Regions from separate parts of the Homo sapiens genome. Here region 1 is linked to region 2. Evidence: promoter capture Hi-C in human tissues and cell types (Jung and others, 2019). All regions are on one chromosome and are shown on one strand. The core of a region is centred on a gene start or on the middle of the fragment in contact, and the rest is flanking DNA. Distances in the headings are between cores, read along the strand shown. Region 1 overlaps KCNG3 (potassium voltage-gated channel modifier subfamily G member 3). Region 2 holds the start of KCNG3 (potassium voltage-gated channel modifier subfamily G member 3).

Region 1 (6,715 bases), core at 286-2,785, 49 kb after region 2:
ATGTTTGGGTTTAAGTTAGTGGTGAGAAAGAATTATGTGGAGAAAAACAAGTGATGGTATAATAATTATAAATTTTAATTTCGAATGTTAAAAATTTTGGGCTGGGCATGGTGGCTCATGCCTGTAATCCCAGCACTTTGGGAGGTCGAGGTGGGCGGATCACTTGAGGTCAGAAGTCTGAGACCAGCCTGGCCAACATGGTGAAACCCCGTCTCTACTCAAAATATAAAAAAATTAGCCAGGCGTGATCGCGCGCGCCTGTAGTCCCAGCTACTTGGGAGGGTGAGGCACGAGAATTGCTTGAACCCAGGCGGCAGAGGTTGCAGTGAGCCGAGATTGTGCCACTGCACTCCAGCCTGGGTGACAGAACGACACTCCATCTCAATTAAAAAAAAATAAAAAATGTTAATTAAATTTAAAATTACCTTCAAATTACAGCTCACAGGGCCAGAGGTGTTGAAATTTGATTTTCTCAGCTTTGGGGTTTATGGGCTGAGGGCTGGGGGCCTAGAGCTCCCAGGATGCAGGCTTCTTCAAGAATCCTACCCGTTGGCTGGGTGTGGTGGCTCATGGCTGTAATCCCGACACTTCGGGAGGCTGAGGTGGGCAGAACAACTGACGTAAGGAGTTCGAGACCAGCCTGGCCAAAATGGTGAAACTCCATCTCTACTAAAAATACAAAAATTAGTCACGCATGGTGGCAGACGCCTGTAGTCCCAGCTACTGGAGAGGCTGAGGCAGGAGAATTGCTTAAACCCGGGAGGCAGAGGTTGCAGTGAGCTGAGATCGTGCCACTGCACTCCAGCCTGGGCGATAGCGTGAAACTTCATCTCAAAAAAAAAAAGGAATCCTATCCCTTGACTGCAGTGTGCTGTATAAATGCGATTATTTTCAGTGCATGCAGTAATGCAGAAAGGGTGGTAAATATTGCTCTAGGTAAAATGTGGTCTTTTAAAAATATGTGCTGTGTAAAAATGATGATGGAATACAAAGTATTTGTGGTCTTTGGGAAAATCCTAGCGGCCATTTTGCTCCAATGTGGGAGTCCTCGGCCTCGTTTCTGCTGGGACCTTTTTAGGATAGTTGTGACCTGGTGAGTTTCTGGTGAGGGCACTCACCCAGTTCCCCATAAACTTGCTCGGTGCCAGTATCTCCCATACAAGCCTATTGGGAAGGAAGGACGATTCACGTTTTAGGAAATGATCTTGCATTGACTGTAAGTTACCAAGAAATAGCCCATCAAAAAACTTAGATAGGTCCACATTCTATAGGAATAATGCCCTTCCAATCCACCTCAGAACTCGTATCACAGCTGAGAACCACTGTCCTGCAAGAGTAAGTTAAATTTCATGTTGTGGCCAACTGAAGATAAGTTAATTTCAAACTACCAAATAAGAGAGATATTTTTTAAAAGTATTAGTGACAAGTAAAAAACAAAATTTAATAGTATTGTAGCATAGAAGTAAGAACTTTATCAAGTTCAATTTTTTTTTTTTTTTTTTTTAATTTTTGAGACAGGGTCTCTTTCTGTCATCCTGGCTGGAGTGCAGTGGCACAGTCATGGCTCACTCTGGCCTTGACCTTCCCAGGCTCAGGTGATCCTCCCACCTTAGCCTCCCAGGTAGGTGGTACTACAGGTGTGTGTCACCAAGCCCAGCTGATTTTTGTATTTTTTTTTTGTGGAGACGGGGTTTTGCTGTGGTGCCCAGGTTGGTCTCGAACTCCTGGGCTCAAGCGATTCACCCACCTCAGCCTTCCAAAGACCTGGGATTACATGCATGAGCCACTGCACCTGGTCTCAATTTTCATCTGAATTGATTTGTTGTTCTGTTGCGTGCATCCTGGTGGTCTGATGATGTTGCTAATGTTGTCTGTTCTTTATGTTTTCTGGAAAAGTAACTGAATTAGTATGTCAGTGTAGTACTATCTGAAGAAATCTAAGAGCTATTAAAATGCTTAAAAATAAAATGATCAATTCTTCTTTTGTTCTCTTGACAGGATAATTGAAGCTATCTGCATAGGTTGGTTCACTGCCGAGTGCATCGTGAGGTTCATTGTCTCCAAAAACAAGTGTGAGTTTGTCAAGAGACCCCTGAACATCATTGATTTACTGGCAATCACGCCGTATTACATCTCTGTGTTGATGACAGTGTTTACAGGCGAGAACTCTCAACTCCAGAGGGCTGGAGTCACCTTGAGGGTACTTAGAATGATGAGGATTTTTTGGGTGATTAAGCTTGCCCGTCACTTCATTGGTCTTCAGACACTCGGTTTGACTCTCAAACGTTGCTACCGAGAGATGGTTATGTTACTTGTCTTCATTTGTGTTGCCATGGCAATCTTTAGTGCACTTTCTCAGCTTCTTGAACATGGGCTGGACCTGGAAACATCCAACAAGGACTTTACCAGCATTCCTGCTGCCTGCTGGTGGGTGATTATCTCTATGACTACAGTTGGCTATGGAGATATGTATCCTATCACAGTGCCTGGAAGAATTCTTGGAGGAGTTTGTGTTGTCAGTGGAATTGTTCTATTGGCATTACCTATCACTTTTATCTACCATAGCTTTGTGCAGTGTTATCATGAGCTCAAGTTTAGATCTGCTAGGTATAGTAGGAGCCTCTCCACTGAATTCCTGAATTAATGCATTGCAAATCAATTCTTGCATACACTTCATAGAAAGACTTTGATGCTGCTTCATATTTATGTGTTTCTTGCTGGGTGAGCACTGCAGTGGCATTGTCATCATCTTGGTAGGGTAAAAATTATCCTTCCCAGCCGAAGGGATAAAACAGTTTACTTGTTATGGAGTAAATAGAATTGAGACTGCAAAGGAAGAATAATGACTCCTAGAGTAAACTTTAGGACCCGGTTTTATTTAGACTTGTTTTCCCGTTTCCTTGAATGATTACACATTTTTAAAAAATACATTATTTGAACATTTTAAAACAGAAAGGTACTATTTTCCAAATGTTTTTCCATCTTATGAATTCAGAAGAAGCTTGGAACTTATAGTGTTTTTTGTTTGAGAGTAACATTTTCATTTCTAAATGTTTTATAATTTCTCATATCAATGTCAGAAGTATCCTGGAAACATATGTCACATGCGGGAACTGTTTAACAAATACTTTAAAAATTTGGCCAAAATTTAAACTGTATAATGGAGCTAGATACAAGCAAGAATAGTATTTGAAAGACTTTTCCAGCATACTTCTCAATTCTTTGCTTTATTTTTGTGCCAATTATTCACCTTATCGTGCCGCTTCATGGAAGCTTGAGTATGTTCTCCCTTTTCCATTTTGGATTTATCTCTTTACTGTAATGACTCAAAAGGTATTTAAGAATTGACGAGAGCTTGTGTTGTTTAGCATCTTACTGGATAATATTTGAATTCATTGCTGTTCCTAGGTGATAACTGTCCTAATATTTAGATGTCCAAACAAGAATACTTCCAACATAAAAATTATAATAGGAATAATTTGAGATGACTCAATATTACAACCTCTTCTTCTCTTAACCTCCTCCCCCAAACACTAGAGGTTTAATAAGACTTATCAGATGAAAGGATATTTATATAGCCTTTTAGTAGCAAAGTCATACTTACGTGTTGTCACTGGATTATCATAAAAGGGAGAAATTAAATATTACTGTACTCTTAGTTGCTGTGTAGCTAAGTCAATTTTAAGCCAGTAAAAGCGATGGATACATAATGATTTGATCTGATCTTTAACTATTGTGAATCACAGCTACACCAAAACTCTTCTTGTAAGAATACTGACTAATATGCCATGTTAATCTGGCTAGATTATTAGGACTAGATAATGTAAAAGTGATGATTGTTTAGTAACTAAATTTTAGCAACAGAAATTAGAATTTTGCTTTTTCAACCAGTTACCATAAAGAAGTTAGTGTATATATAAACACAAATAATTAGTGACAGATTCATAAAAAATTGAATGTTGTACACAGTAATTTTGTCAGAGGTAGAGAAGACAGGGATTGGGAAGTGGTGGGTGATGGAGGACCTGGATATATTTATCAAATAAAGGGTTACCAGAAGTGTTCATTAAAGGAATTTTAGCCATCATCTAGTTCAAACCTCAACTATTACAGGTAGAAAATCAGGGCAGGAGAGAATATAATTGTGAAGGAGTCAGGGCTAACACCTGGATCTCCAGAAACCTAGCCCAGCAGGTTAATCTTCACACATCTCTGGGTTCTGAGAAAAGCCTGGAAAAATCACACTTCTTTGTCATTGTCATGCTGAGGTAATAATAGCAAAACTGTTTTCTTTCCCTTAATTTCCTTTCCTAAGCTTATGTAATAGTTTGGCCATTAAATATCTTGCCCTATTTTCCCTATTACTGCTAGTATGCTACTTCTTACATACCCAAAAGAAATTCAGTTATTTATTGTATATTTATTGTATTCTAATATAATTGAAATAAATGGCATGGATTTATTTTTTCTTAACTATTTGGATTAAAGCTTTGTGGTTCATGCAAACAATGTGCAGATGATAGCACCTCCATATTACTAATAAAAATATGATAACCATCAATTTTACTGGTACTGGGACCGCTTTATGTGAATATGTCCTATCTTCCCAAGTAAATTATAACTGTCTTGAGAGCTGGGATCCTCTCTCATGCATACACCTTTGTATCCCCGACAGTGTCTGTTACAGACTTGGGCACAAACAGTTGACTGATTTGAGGGGAGAAACTTCTGTGTGAAGAGACGAGGAGAAGCATATACCTATAGGTATATATATACACACACACCTATATATATATATTTTATACATACATATAGGTATATATATGTGTATATATTTTATATATAGGGATATGTGTGTGTGTATATATATATATAATGTACATGTGCAAATATACACACAGACTTCATGCTACCCTTAGGTAACAAGTGTGAAATCTCTTGTTGGTGATTCCAGACTTTCCATAGGACCGATTTTCATAAAGAAGCATGTTGGGTAAATACTAGTGGCAGTTAAGCTACCCATTTATAAGGAGACGATGAGACGTGATAGAGTAGTTCATTCATAAATGAAAAAATATGTATTAGGGTTTTGTCTTCATGGATGTTGTGTTTTTTTAGGAACAGCATTTTATTGTAACGTTCCCTGAGCGTTGCTACTTTTATCATTATTTATCTATTTATTTTTTTCTAGAGATAGAGTTTTGCTTGGTTGCCTAGGCTGGAGTGCAGTGGTGTGATCATAGCTCACTGCAGTTTTGAACTCCTGGGCTCAAGCAGTCCTCCCACCCCAGCCTCCCAAGTTGCTAGGACTATAGGTGTGCATCACCATGCTGGTTAATTTTTTAATTTTTATTTTTTTGTAGAGATAGGGGTCTCACTGTGTTGCCCAGGCTTGCCTCAAACTCCTGGCCTCAAGCAGTCCTCCCACCTCAGCCTCTCAAAGCTCTGGGATTATGGGCATGAGACACTGTGCCTGGCCTGTTGCTGCTTTTTTAAAAAACCATTAAGTATCACTTCTTTCTTAGCTATACTTACAGACATCTCTTATAACTCAGTCTTTTCATGGCAGAAATGTTTTCATTAATATCTGTATTGGTACCAGTAAGTCAGACATTATCCTAAATTAAAATACCCAAAGAGGAAAAAAGCCCTAATCTCCTAATCTTTAATCTGATTTTACCACACCTGAATTTACATGACTTGATCTAATATGTAACTTGTTTTGTATTCTCTAAAATGGGAGTTTTAGGATTACAAACACAAAATTAGGGAATATATTTGAAAGTGAACAAACTAACAATTCAAGGCTTTCATTACTGTATTGTCCTTGTTGCTAATTGAAACAGTTGCATTTGTTCTTGGGTTTGGTCATTACCTATAAGTACCCATTTGTAAGTTCATACTTTCTGAAAAGTTATTTCCACAATGGCTGTCAATAAGTCAAAATTATTTGTCTTTTTAAACCTTTGTCCAGATGTCCTGTGATCTGGAAGAGGTGGAGATGGGGTTAATTTGGATGTTGGTGTTGGGAGAATTTTCCCTGTTGGCTTGGTATTTGCTAATAGCAGTTTATTTTCCTTTTTTTTTTTTTTTTTTAAAGAAAACAGACAAAAAGATGCAAAACAATATTTGAAATATTAAAGCCTCAGGATAGAATTTCAGACATCCCTTCTGTCCACTTCACCTCTTTTCCATAGAAATGAAAAATAAAACATTGAAAGCTCCTAGCTCTGTATTACTATTCAGCTGTGTAACTCCAAACTTAATGCATAGTGTCATAGAATATTTCGAGTCCTCTGACCCTTCATAAATGTGCATTCCCTTATGGTGTGTAATATACAATTCAATCAGACATAGTCTAATCATTTTATAGGGTCATAGGAAGTTGGAACTAGGGGTTGTGGAAACCTTCTGGTCTATTTTGGCCCAATTGTATGCCTTTTGTCCGATCCAAATATTAGCAACCAGGGAACTCTGCTCCCAGTGGGTTGTAATTTAGCCATGGTCACTCTAGTGTCAGGTTAGGTCCCAGAAGCTTGATTTCCAGACTTTTGGCTTAGTACTCTGGATATACTTCCTTTAAGAATCTTGTAACTTCGGAAGCCATGAAGGATTTCTTTTAAAAATATTTTCTTGGCCAGGCATGGTGACTCACGCCTGTAATCCGAGCACTTTGGGAGGCCGAGGCGGGTGGATCACCTGAAATCAGGAGTTC
Region 2 (6,672 bases), core at 3,377-5,876:
TCACAAAGTGAACACGATGTATGTTACATATATGTGTACCAATTATGCATGTGTGCGCCTCCCCCGTAAGTATGTATAGCTTTTCCCCCAAGCCTGCTGACTATGTATGATACAGGCCCTGTGAGGCCTAAAACCCAACCTGTTATTTCCCTCTTTGAAGAGAGAGCACCTTCAGTCCACACCGGAGACTTTCTCTTCCTGGCTTGCAAACTGATAACAACAATAAAGCTCTCCTTTCTACCATTCAGCCATCCTGGTGGTCTTCTGAACACCTTCTACAGGGGTCATTCTGCACACTGGGCTAAGTCATTAGCCTTTTATATTTTAAAATGAGAGAAGTTTCCATTTGAATTTCCATTCGAAAAGCTGTCTTTAAAAGTACCAACTGATTCGGCAGAGGCTGAGAAATAAACTGATGTAAATGCAAACATTGAAAAATATGAATTAACAGCAGGGCAAGGGCTTTTTAAAGCAGACAGAGTTGATAAGTAAGCTGCATGGAACAGTAGTGCCCACAGGGTATTTCAATTTCTAAAGCTTTGGGGGAAACGGTGTTTGGAGTCCTCGAACACATCCAGTTATGCAATGCAAAGTGATGGAGGAATCTGTGTTCAAGCCAGAGTCAGCAGTAAAAGGGTCACAACTTTTTACTGAATTTTTTGTTTCAGGTTACTCTGTTGTTGGTCACATGTTTAGACAAATCAATTCACTTATCCAATCTGTGTTTATTTAGAACCCAGGAATGAGAAATGAGCATGGCTGATTTGGGCTAAAGGAAGCATACATGAAGTGAGATGTTTCTAGTGTCATGCACTGAGCTATATACCACCTTCACATCAGCTTGTGATCTTTTCATTACCCCTTTGGATGTAGGTATTATTATCTTCATTCTACGGAGGAGAAAAACTGAAGATCAATGAGGTTTAAGGAACTGGCTCCAGGTGGCTTAGCAAATGAGTTATACAGCCAGGGTTTGAGCCTAGAGAGAGCCCTATAGACAATCTGGACTTTTTTTTTTTTTTTGAGATGGAGTCTCGCTCCATCACCCAGGCTCAAGGGCAGTGGAGCGATCTCGGCTCACTGCAACTTCTGCCTCCCGGGTTCAAGCGATTCTCGTGCCTCAGCTTCCTGAGTAGCTGGGATTACAGGGGCGCACCACCACGCCCAGCTAATTTTTGTATTTTTAGTAGGGACGGGGTTTCACCATCTTGGCCAGGCTGCTCTCGAACTCCTGACCTCATGATCCACCTGCCTCGGCCTCCCAAAGTGCTGGGATTACAGGCATGAGCCACCGCGCCTGGCCAATTTGGACTTTATTGTATGGACAATTTCTAATTATCTACTTTTATATACTCCTTTTAGGTTTTGTTTGTTTTGTTTTTTTTTGAAAACCTCTAGTTTCAAGAGGAGTTTTGCTCTTGTAGCCCAGGCTGGAGTCCAATGGCACAATCTCAGCTCACTGCAACCTCTGCCTCCCAGGTTCAAGCGATTCTCCTGCCTCAGCCTCCCCAGTAGCTGGGATTACAGGTGTGCACCACCATGCCTGGCTAATTTTTTGAATTTTTAGTAGAAACGGGTTTCACCATGTTGGCCAAGCTGGTCTCGAACTCCTGAACTTGGGTGATCTGCCTGCCTCGGCCTTCCAAAGTGCTGAGATTACAGGCGTGAGCCACCACACCCAGCCACCTTTCAGGTTTTTGAATTTGGGAATGCCCTGATGAAAATGGATGGAAGGAAGAGCTCTGTGGTGGCCTTATTCAGAATTCATAGAGATAGGAAAGAACTGGAGTGCAAAGAGATGAGGTAGAAGGTTGTGGCAGCAATCCAGGCCCTGGAAACAGAGTGAGCAGAGTTTGACATGAGAAAACCTGATTCTAGCCTCTGCCAGGATGCTGCTGCTGGGAATGCTCGGGCTAGTTACAGCCACATCTCTGAAGCTTTGTAACTTCGGAGGGGAGGAAAAAATGGGAGTAATTTGCTTTTTTTTTTTTTTTTTTTTCCTAGGTTCTGAAACTAGAAAACCTCTAGGTTCTTTCAAACTCTAAAATTCTACCTTTAAATTGTAATGCATTCTAAAGATTTAGATATGAAGACCCTAAATACCATCCCGAGTCTAGGAGAGAATCTGGATGTAATACTTCTCAACATTATCTTCTCAAAGTACAAAGAATAGAATTGGCTTTAAGAATGCTCTCTAAACCAGATTATATTGAGACAAGCCTATCATTTCTGCATCACTGTTTTCTTTGTTTAAGAAAACGATTTGGGTATTGCTGCTGCAGCAGTGGTTGATGATATTAAAATCAAATAAAAATATTACTCTTGAAACAAATGAAATGATTTAAGCCTATCTCTCTAAGAAATCGCATGAAAATATACCTAGGAGGCACACATTGTATTGTCATCAAATTAATTTGTTTTCTAAGCTCAAATGTAATTTAAAATGAGATATTTCTTCAACTGGTTCAATCAACAGACAGTAGAAGGATTCTACGGAGAGAACACAGGAAATAAACCCTACAATAATGTTAGAGCAAACAATCGGCACTATAGTTCTGTCTTCTATTGCTTGTGATGCTTCTAGAAAGTATTTTTTAACGGCTTCCTGATGAATTGGCTCTTGGTATCAAGCCAGGCTCATCTCTGGCTCACATCTGCAAACTTTTCCCCATCCTCACGTCCTACAACAAATCCATCTTCAAGACCTGCAAAGTTCTTGGTCTCAGCGTTTCTCAGAACAGACCCTTCTTCATCTTCACAGACACGGGGTTGGGGATCCCATTCCTGGGTTGCGAAATGACCTTCTCCTTAGAATGACCCAAAGTGCAAAGGCATCTTCCTGAAATAAAGCTTTCATCAAGCCATTTCTGCTATGGAAACCTCCAGGGATTCCATTGCTTATGGGATCCAATTTAAATGCTGCAGTTGAGATCCCCATTGTTTCAGTGGGCAAGTGCATTATACTTCTTCACAGACTTTAAACCTCCACATTCGAGATTTTGCTACTAGGAATGTTTTGCCCTTTCTCTGTGCCAACTCATGGCCATCAGCACCTCCAATTCTGTCTTGAAACTCACTTTCTTACAGATATTTTTCTTGTTTAATATCTACTTAGTAGATACTAAACAGCAAAGTAGCAGTATCTACCCAGTAGACACTAAATAGCAAAATAGATACTGAATAGCAAACTATTTAGTAGATACTAAAGTAGCAAATAACTCCTGTTTTTGAGCTTTTAATCACATTTAGTGCTCTTAAGATAAATTATCCAAGTCTGGGGATAAACAACTCACAGAGATTTTCATTCTTTAAGAAGCCACCGAGAGTGATTTTACTTAAAAGACAGCACTCACATTTTCAGTTGTCTGCCTTTTCACTAGGAATCCACTTAAGAACCAGCGCAAAAGGACTCCGTTTGGCGACCTCTAGCGGGCACCGGACAATCCTACAAAATTACGAAAAGTAGAGGGCAATGAAAAACTCTTCCCTTTAACCAGCCAGGTTACCCTGTGGTCAGATGACCGCATCTCACCCTACCCCACCCTTATTTTTTTCTTCTAGTATTTGTTTTGCATCTAACACGGTTCGCCTTACAACTCACCTGTCTCGCCTCCGGCGGGCTGGGCTGCCGGTGTCGGGTGTCAGGTGAATGAATTGCTGGTAGCAGTTTAAAATAATCCCTGCCAAGTGGAACCCGCTTTCTGGGCACGGACAAGAGCGCGGGGTAGATCGCTCTGCGGAGCCTTCACGGGGCTCTTCCCGCTCGGAGGGCCGGTGCTGCAGCCGGGTCAGGGGTGCGCGGGGGAAATCAAGATATTTTGAAAAGGAGGATGCAGACGAAGACCAAGAGAAAGGCTGTTTTTGCCGGTGACAAGGCGTTCCTCCCCAGACTTTCATCCCACTCTAAGGGCAGCATCTCGAGAGGGTCCAGGCGCGCTACACGTTAGGCGCCTTCTCAGGACTCGCGCCCCAGAACGTGGGGGCCGGGGCCGGGTCGGGGACCGCTTCCCTCCGCGGGCTGGCAGGCGGCACCGAGGCTGGGGGATGGGGCGTGTAGCCGCCCTCTGAGCACGCGGTACGTGGGTCGCCCCGCGCGGCGGTAGGAAGAGCAAAGTCGGCAGGAAAAGCCGTGGCTGGGATGCCTTCCCTGAGAAATCCTTAGGGGCGATGTCAGAACCCGAGCTGGGCTCCGGACAGTTTCTGGAAAAAGCTCTCCAAACGCCGTCTGTCCCCGCACCCGAGTCCACACTGGGCTTTGAACCAGGGCTGTTAAAAGGGGCCCTGGGGACTGCCCAATTCATCCCGATGGCCCAGGGCAGGACGCGGGAGCAGGCATCCCGGCGCTGGGCTCCCCGCTCCCCCGCCCTGCGGACCCCTCCCCGCCACTACGGGCCGGAGCGGAGGGGGAGGACGGCGTCACGAGGCGGGGAGCCCGAGGTCCAGGGCGGGGCGCCCGGGAATCCCAGCCCGAGCAAGCCGGGGAGGTGCGGGCGCGGGCGGGAAGCGGAGGGCGGCGCGGAGGGAGGTGAGCGGCGCGCGCGGAGCCGGCGGGCGAGGAGGAGGACTGCACAGAGGCCCCGCCCCCGCCGCCGCGAGCCGGCTCTTCGCCGCCTCCGAACCCGCTCACTTTGCCTCTCGCCTCTGGACGGCGGCGGGGCGGCCGCCGGATTCGCGGCCGCAGGGAGCGCCGGAGACGGGGAGCTATTCCGCCCCGGCGGCTCCATTCGGCGCCCGCAGCCCTCAGGGGGTCGGCCCCGCGGCTTGGGAGAGGGCACCGCGGCCTCGGTGTGCGCAGCCCTCGGGCGCGAGGGTCGGCGGCGCGGACACAGCCGCGTTCCCAGCCGGTGGGGCTCAGCGCTGGCGCCGGCGAGGACTCCCCGGCCACCCGCAGGTACCGCCGGGCGGAGGGCGCGCTACTAGCAGCGCCGGAGATACTCGAGCCCAGGGACCCCCGGGCCAGCGGAGGGCAGGAGCGGAGCCCCGAGGGAGCGCGGGCCCCGACGGCGCGCTCCCCCGTCAGCCACGGGCAGGCAGGCCCCGCGTGGCGGCTTGGGGTGGGGGGCTGCAGCGGGGCCCTCGGGCCGAAAGTCCCCCGGGCGGCCAGCCATGACCTTCGGGCGCAGCGGGGCGGCCTCGGTGGTGCTGAACGTGGGCGGCGCCCGGTATTCGCTGTCCCGGGAGCTGCTGAAGGACTTCCCGCTGCGCCGCGTGAGCCGGCTGCACGGCTGCCGCTCCGAGCGCGACGTGCTCGAGGTGTGCGACGACTACGACCGCGAGCGCAACGAGTACTTCTTCGACCGGCACTCGGAGGCCTTCGGCTTCATCCTGCTCTACGTGCGCGGCCACGGCAAGCTGCGCTTCGCGCCGCGGATGTGCGAGCTCTCCTTCTACAACGAGATGATCTACTGGGGCCTGGAGGGCGCGCACCTCGAGTACTGCTGCCAGCGCCGCCTCGACGACCGCATGTCCGACACCTACACCTTCTACTCGGCCGACGAGCCGGGCGTGCTGGGCCGCGACGAGGCGCGCCCCGGCGGGGCCGAGGCGGCTCCCTCCAGGCGCTGGCTGGAGCGCATGCGGCGGACCTTCGAGGAGCCCACGTCGTCGCTGGCCGCGCAGATCCTGGCTAGCGTGTCGGTGGTGTTCGTGATCGTGTCCATGGTGGTGCTGTGCGCCAGCACGTTGCCCGACTGGCGCAACGCAGCCGCCGACAACCGCAGCCTGGATGACCGGAGCAGGTACTCCGCCGGCCCTGGGAGGGAGCCCTCCGGGTAGGACGCACTGCTTCTCTACCCGTCCCGTCCGTCCTGTCGCGTCTGTCCGTCCCGTCCATACGTCCCGTCTCCGTCCTGTCCGCCTCCGGGCGACCGAGCCAGCGGGGTGCGCGCCCAGCGAGGCCCAGGCGCGGCCAACTACGGGACCGGTCGGTCCCCACTCCTACCCCGTTGTCCGGGGCACCAGCGGGGTCTGGCCCTTACACTAGACGCACCTCTTGAGGGCGAAATCCTCAGGCATGGGGAGGGGCGTGTAGAGATAGACAAATGTCCCCTCTTTGTAGTTTACTTTTGCGCAGAGAGCAACCTGCTAATTACATTTTTCTGAACTTTTATTGTTAGGGTTCAACAATTAAGCCTTGAACTAAGCGCAGTTTGAATTATTTGCCAATTTTTGGTAGTGTTTGGAAAGATGGATTCTTGTTATGGTGAAATGTGCACTCTCCACACATTCTATACACTCTGCCCCCGGCATACTATGTGCTGTAATGGAATCGTTATATTATAAAGCAGGTTAATTTATCGATAGACTCTAAATAATGGATGTCTGTGCCCTTTTCTTCCCCCTTTTCCTACAAAGTATGGAGTTAGCAAACCTCTTGTCCACCGTTTGGTAGCAAAGATTCACACTGCGACTTTCAGAGGGTCTATGATATGGGAAGGGAAAAAACCATTACCTTGAGAACAAAGAAAAATCTAAACTGTCCTAAATCCAGAAAACAGTATTTGGGTAAATTTTTTTTTCTACTTTACTAGGATGAATGGGAAAATATTGCAGTCTTTTCTTAGACTGTCTTACCTTGAAGTGGTGATAGCACTTTCCTGTTTTTAGTACAAGTGAGCATATTCAGTGGGAGGAATAAGCAGACTAAGGATGGACTTTCAAAGAAGACAGCCT

What was found. The method cuts DNA at HindIII sites, captures the fragments that hold promoters and counts their contacts. A contact is called where the count stands out against the background at its distance.
Region 1: a contact is called between a fragment that was not itself captured here and the fragment with the promoter of KCNG3 in region 2, in 4 of the 25 tissues and cell types used here (H1 embryonic stem cells, lymphoblastoid cells, pancreas and 1 more).

The regions. Positions count from the first base shown.
Region 1 is chr2:42,439,863-42,446,577 of GRCh38, reverse strand. KCNG3 (potassium voltage-gated channel modifier subfamily G member 3) reads left to right here. Exons shown (of 2, transcript NM_133329.6): 2 at 1,999-4,561. The coding sequence ends at 2,644. It overlaps LOC124900542 (small nucleolar RNA SNORD75), which reads right to left and starts at 6,201; the gene lies at 6,142-6,201. The HindIII fragment of the contact is 7,955 bases long and covers 1-5,512 here.
Region 2 is chr2:42,491,936-42,498,607 of GRCh38, reverse strand. It overlaps KCNG3 (potassium voltage-gated channel modifier subfamily G member 3), which reads left to right and starts at 4,626. Exons shown (of 2, transcript NM_133329.6): 1 at 4,626-5,771. The coding sequence starts at 5,107. It also overlaps a transcript of MTA3 not described here. RefSeq lists enhancers at 3,305-3,599, 4,924-5,681, 5,682-6,439 and silencers at 4,354-4,433, 4,524-4,573, 4,754-4,843. The HindIII fragment of the contact is 23,685 bases long and covers 2,395-6,672 here.